Linked DNA regions of Homo sapiens: region 1 is linked to region 2. Evidence: promoter capture Hi-C in 16 types of primary human blood cells and fetal thymus (Javierre and others, 2016). All regions are on one chromosome and are shown on one strand. The core of a region is centred on a gene start or on the middle of the fragment in contact, and the rest is flanking DNA. Distances in the headings are between cores, read along the strand shown.

Evidence for each region. The method cuts DNA at HindIII sites, captures the fragments that hold promoters and counts their contacts. A CHiCAGO score of 5 or more calls a contact.
Region 1: a fragment that was not itself captured here is called in contact with the fragment with the promoter of SLC35H1 in region 2 in 4 of 17 cell types (M2 macrophages, M0 macrophages, monocytes and 1 more); the score reaches 8.0 in M2 macrophages.

The regions. Positions count from the first base shown.
Region 1 is chr20:46,110,836-46,113,535 of GRCh38, reverse strand. No RefSeq gene overlaps it. Among named protein-coding and RNA genes, the nearest start is that of CD40, 6.1 kb to the left of the region's middle. The HindIII fragment of the contact is 1,495 bases long and covers 545-2,039 here.
Region 2 is chr20:46,363,175-46,365,874 of GRCh38, reverse strand. SLC35H1 (solute carrier family 35 member H1) reads left to right here and starts at 1,450. Exons shown (of 10, transcript NM_015945.12): 1 at 1,450-1,504. LOC124904917 (a long non-coding RNA gene) reads right to left here and starts at 1,336. Exons shown (of 3, transcript XR_007067614.1): 1 at 1,155-1,336. RefSeq lists a silencer at 1,310-1,729. The HindIII fragment of the contact is 17,737 bases long and covers 1-2,631 here.

The sequences.
Region 1 (2,700 bases), core at 43-2,542, 250 kb after region 2:
GGAGGGAGGAAATGGCCTTCTCCTATGAACACCTGACTACTCAGTAAAACCAAGGACCTCCTTCCTCCCCAAGATTGCTGTATGGGCAAGGAAGAGGAAATTGGAATTTTGGGCTGTGGGTGTAAAGCGAGTTCTGCCTCCTTTAGTAAACCTGGAGGGAAACTATCTGGCTCCCTAAAATACAGGGTACAGAGGACCTGTTGGCTTTGGCTGTGGGCCAGCCATGTGGCTGATTCCTAAGGAACAAGGAATTTGCACTCAATCGCCTTTGGATCAGGCCATCCCTCACTTCTAACTTGAATTGTGGAGAGGAGGAACAGTGCCTCCTTTATCTTCTTAACCTAACACCCACACAGAGTCTGAACACCTGCCAGATGCTGAACAGGTATTTGTTGAATAAACGCAGAACTATAGAGTAATGAGGCTGAAGGGATCCCTCAGACCCACCTGCCCATTCCCACACCGTCCTGGGTAGCAGCCCATCTCCATAAGATGACAGGGCTCTCTAGCTGGGATTCCCAGGCCTAACTATGGACAAAAAGCTTTCCCTTTAGCTCACCAGTATCACGTGGGAATTTATCAAAGGGAACTAAGAAACTCAGAAAAGAACCCAAGCAGAAATTTGGAAAACCCAAGAGCCGGCAAAACAGATGCGAGAACAAAGCAGAGAATGTCTTGATCCTTATCTGGTTAAAGCCACTTACTCGGCTGATCTGATCCCCGCACAATGAGGCCTGGAGCCTGGTCCTCAGCCCTCCCAGACTCTGATGTTTGGAAGAAGAGATGCTTTGGTTGCAGGGGAAAGGATCCAAGTTTTTACTGTGACCTCAAGAGGCTGCGTGACCTGGCCATTGGCAACCTTGGTTCCCACCGCAGAGCTTTGGCTATGCTGCCCCCTCTGTCTAAAACGCCCCTCCTCCCACCTTTCATCTGCTGACTCTTCCTCACCATTCATGTCTCAGGGTAAGTGGCCCCTCCTCAGAGAGGCCTTCCCTGACCATCTTATCTAAAATGAGTTTCCTCTGCTACCCACCCACCTCCCCCGCCACTGTCCTCTCTTGTAGCACCTGTTCTAATCAGAGTTGTCCTTGCAAACAAGAGAAGATGTAGCAGTGAACTTAAATAAAAGAGGACACTATTGAAAGGGTGTTGGGCAGCCCAGAGAGCCGACAGGAAGGCTCAAGGGAGGCACCCAGGCAAAACCACAGGAGGCAGGGAATAGATGAGACTCTGCCACAGAAAAGTTCTATAAACCATCTCTGTGCCAGCCTACCTCCAAGACAGCCCTCAACAATCCCTACCTCCTGGTCTTCACACCCTTATGTAGTCCCCTTCCTTATTGTACCAGGGTTGGTCTGTGTGACCAACAGAAACCAGCAGAAGTGAGTGTAGGTCACATCAAGGTTAGGTTACAAACCCACTGAGGTCAGGTGCAGTGGCTCATGCCTGTAATTCCAACACTTTGGGAGGTCAAGAAAGGAAGGATCACTTAAAGCAAGGAGTTCTAGACCAGCTGAGCAACACAGCAATAATTCATCTCTACAAAAAAATTAAATAAAAATAAAAGGACTGAGGCTTCCATCTTATGTGTGCACTGTCTCACTCTTCTTTTTCTCTCTTCTCTCTCTTCTTTCTCTCTCCCTTCTCTGTCTCCTCTCTCTCTTCTCTCTCTCTTCTCTTTTCTCTTCTCTCTCTCCTTTCTCTGTCTTCTTTCTCTCTCTTCTCTCTCCTTTCTCTCTCTCCTTTCTCTTCTCTCTTTTCTTTCTCTCTTCTTTCTCTCTCTCCTTTCTCTCTTCTCTCTCTCCTTCTTCTTTCTCTCTCCTTTCTCTCTCTCTTCTCTTTCTCTCTCTTCTTTCTCTCTCCTTCTCTTCTCTCTCTCCTTTCTCTCTCTTCTCTCCTCTCTCTCTCTCTCTCTCCCCTCTCCCCCACCCCCTGCACTGTCTCCAGGCCCTCTGGGGAAGCAGCTGTCTGCCATGTCGTGAGGACACTCAGCACTCAGGCAGCCTATGGAGAAGTCCATATGGCAAGGATTCAAAGCTTCCAGCCCTCAGCCACATAGGAAGTGAAAGTGGAAGTGGAAGTGGAAGTGGACCCTCCCGCAGCAGTCAAGCCTCATATGACTTCAGCCCCAGCTGACACATTGATCCCAGTGGTGATCTAATCAGAACCACCCAGCTAAGTTGCTTCTGGATTCCTAACCCACAGAAACTGTGAGATAATAGATGTTTTCTTGTTTCAAGCCACTAAGTTTCAGGTCAACCTCTTACCCAGCAATAGATAATGAACACAATCTCTAACTACCCCTGAACTTGAGCATCACTCCTTCGAGGTTCAAAGTCTTGGGAAAGGAATCAGAGTGGCCACACTTGGCTTACAACGCACATTCTATGCCTCCTTGGCTTCCTTGTCAAGCCTCCTGCCCTCCTTCCCCTCAAGTAAGAAGGGTACACATCCTGAACATCCAGAACAATCCATCTGCCCTGCAATGTTCCCTCAGAACACTCGGCACAACTTGTTGTTCTCTATGCAGGATGACATTTTTCTCCTTTCCCCTTGCTCTTCCTAATTTTGGGCACACACCAAACGTAAGAACCAGAGAGGGCAGATAGTTTTTGGCCCAATAATGCAGGGAAAACATCCTCAAAGTTCTGATTGCCTTAAAAATGCCAGACCGTGAAGAAAGACCCATTAGAAGGCAAC
Region 2 (2,700 bases), core at 201-2,700:
ACACACACACAGACACACACCTGCTGGTTAAGAGTGTTCACAGATTGCTGCACTGGGACGAAGCGTTTTCTGCTCAACCCTGCTGGGTACAGCAAGGTAAGGCATACTGTACACCCCCATGAACACATCCTCCCTCTTCTCCCTGCCAGGGACACAGCCAGGGAACAGCTCGAGTACTTGTGCCTTACAAAGAAGACACGCTCTTTACCCTGTGTGTTGCCTGTGCATAGTGCCCAGCCTTCCAGCTGGTGTTTTAGGCTGTTGCTCCAAACCTTGGCCTTGGTAGCTGGGAGACTTAAATGAGGGTGGTGATGAAAATAGATCTCTTGCCTCTGAGAGAGAAGGGTGTGAGGACAGGCTCTTTCAAAAGGCATAGAAAGTGCATGCAATACAAGCCTGAGGACTGAATAAAGCCAAGACCTTGGGCAGTGATGGGTACCATTGTAGGTGCTTGGTAAGCACTGAATGAACTAATGCCTGCATGATGCCAGCTGGCGGCGGTGACAGCCGCAGTTTGCATAAAACACTGCTTACACTCTGGCCTTGAGCCTTCTGTTCAGAGGGGCCAGGGATCCCAGCTGAGTCACTTGTAAGGATCCATGTTTGCAGCTGGTCTTACTGCCAGAGAGCCCAGGAGGAGGCTAGAGGAGGGCGAAAGGCACAAAACTGGGTCTGAATGTGCAACCCTAGCTTGCCCTGGCCTAATGTTCTTGACTGCAAATGCTGCCCTTTTAATCCATCCCGCAAGATGAAGAAAATCTGAACTCCCTAGGCTGGCATTTTGGGGCCACTGCAACCTGCCTCTTGGCTACTTTAACCACCACAGTTACAAACAACCTGTGAGCCCCAGGCACGGCTGGAGCTTTCTCACCCTCCTTTAGGATTCTCCCATTTCCTCTATCTGGGATGCTCTCTCCCTACTCAACCTATTGAAGTTGAGATAATTCTTAGAAAGTTTCATACAGAAAATATTTCACAAATGTTTCGTATTACTTCTGGATCGCCCAAGTTTTAAGTTGTAATGGCCCCAGCTGGCCTGAGCTCCCAGAAGAAAAAGCCCATGAGATACTTATCTTCGTGGTTCATTCCATGGTTGCCCAGCATTAGACTGGACATAAGAAAAACAATTTGTTCAGTAAAAGTAAACAAGTTACCATTTTTTGGATGCTCACTGTATGCAGAACACTAGCAGGCACCGGGGTTCCAAAGCAAGCCCCTGATTGAGCGCGGGAGAGACGCAGACAATTACACGGCTGTGCTCTGAGCCTGAGGGACTTCGCGGAGGACAAAACTACGCTGTACCTCAGAAAGACCAGACCACCTCAGAACCCGACCACAACAGACGCCCCGCCCCCGTGCTGCCCCGCCCCGCCTTTTCGCCCCGGCTCCGCCCAGCCCCTGGGTAGCTTCCGGCGGAAGTTACCGCCCGTGCCGCGGTTCGGCGGCGGCATCCGGCCTCGCACTTCCGGTGGGGAGATTCCGGCCTGGAGCTCCCAGGGCCGAGGTGAGTGGGTGTGCGGCCGGCCTCCCGGCGCACTCCCAGAGGCTGGGGGGCCGGGGCTGGAGAAGGGAAGCGGGCTCCCCACCCGGGATCTGCGCGGGTTGACATGGGGCACGCCACGCCCCTGCCCCTCCCCGGGCCTCAGTTTCGCCGTCTGTGGAGGGGGCAGGGGTCTCCAAGCGCCCTCCTGCAAGGCACCTGCCGGACGCCGGCTCATCTGGTATTTCCTGAGCACCTGCGACGTCCTGGGTGCGGGACCCGGGCCGGAATCGGACACGGCCCTGCCCTCTGAGGGGCTGCTTCCCGCGGTGGGATTGGGGCGGGCAGTAAACACGTGAGCAAACAAGGAAACGTCAGAGGTGGGAGTGCCACGAGGATTGGGAGGGGTGGGGCATTGGAGAAAGTATTCAGCCAAGCGGAGGTCTGCGGAAGGGAGCTGAAGGCAGGAAGAGCAGCAAGTAAAGAAAAACACAGGTTTGATGTGTTTGACACGTGGCAGGGGGCCGCTGTGGCGGGTGCTGGGACCAGTGGCAGAAGAATGAGGTTACAGAGGCCTTCCTTGTGGACCAGGCTGAGGAGCTGGGCTTAGCCTTAGGGCATGATCTGTTTCGTGTGCCATCTCTCTGGCTGCTTTATAGATTCCAGGCCTTAGGGGCGAAAGAGGAAACAGGGAGACCAGTTAGACCAGTGGCAGTCAGCAGGTGAAAGATAATTGTGGCTTAGACTGTGGTAGTGGGAATGGAGAGGAAGAGAAGTAGAGGGGTCAAGAAGTGTATTGAAAGTGGAACTGACAGGGCAGGATTTGAGAAATGACAGAAATAAGTGGTCAAAGATGACTTCATCATAGATTTTTGGTTTTGGCTTAAGTAACCAAGTGTATTATGCTGGCATTTACTAAATGACTTTGGGATAGATTGGGAGCGTGAGAAATAATTACGAAATCTTCTTAGGGCATCTTAAGTTTTAGATATTTGGAGTGCAGCTACCAAATAGGCAGTTAGATATATGAGTCTGATACAGAAAAGGTCAGGGCTGATGTAAAGAATTTAGAAATCATTGGCAAGTGGATTGGGTAGGATGAGATTATGTAGGGTAAGATTTAAGAGAGAAGAGAAGCCAGGTTCCAAGCTTTAGGCACCCAATTTTTATAGATTGAGTTGACAAGAAGGTGCCAGCAAAAAAGACCAATAAGGAGTCCA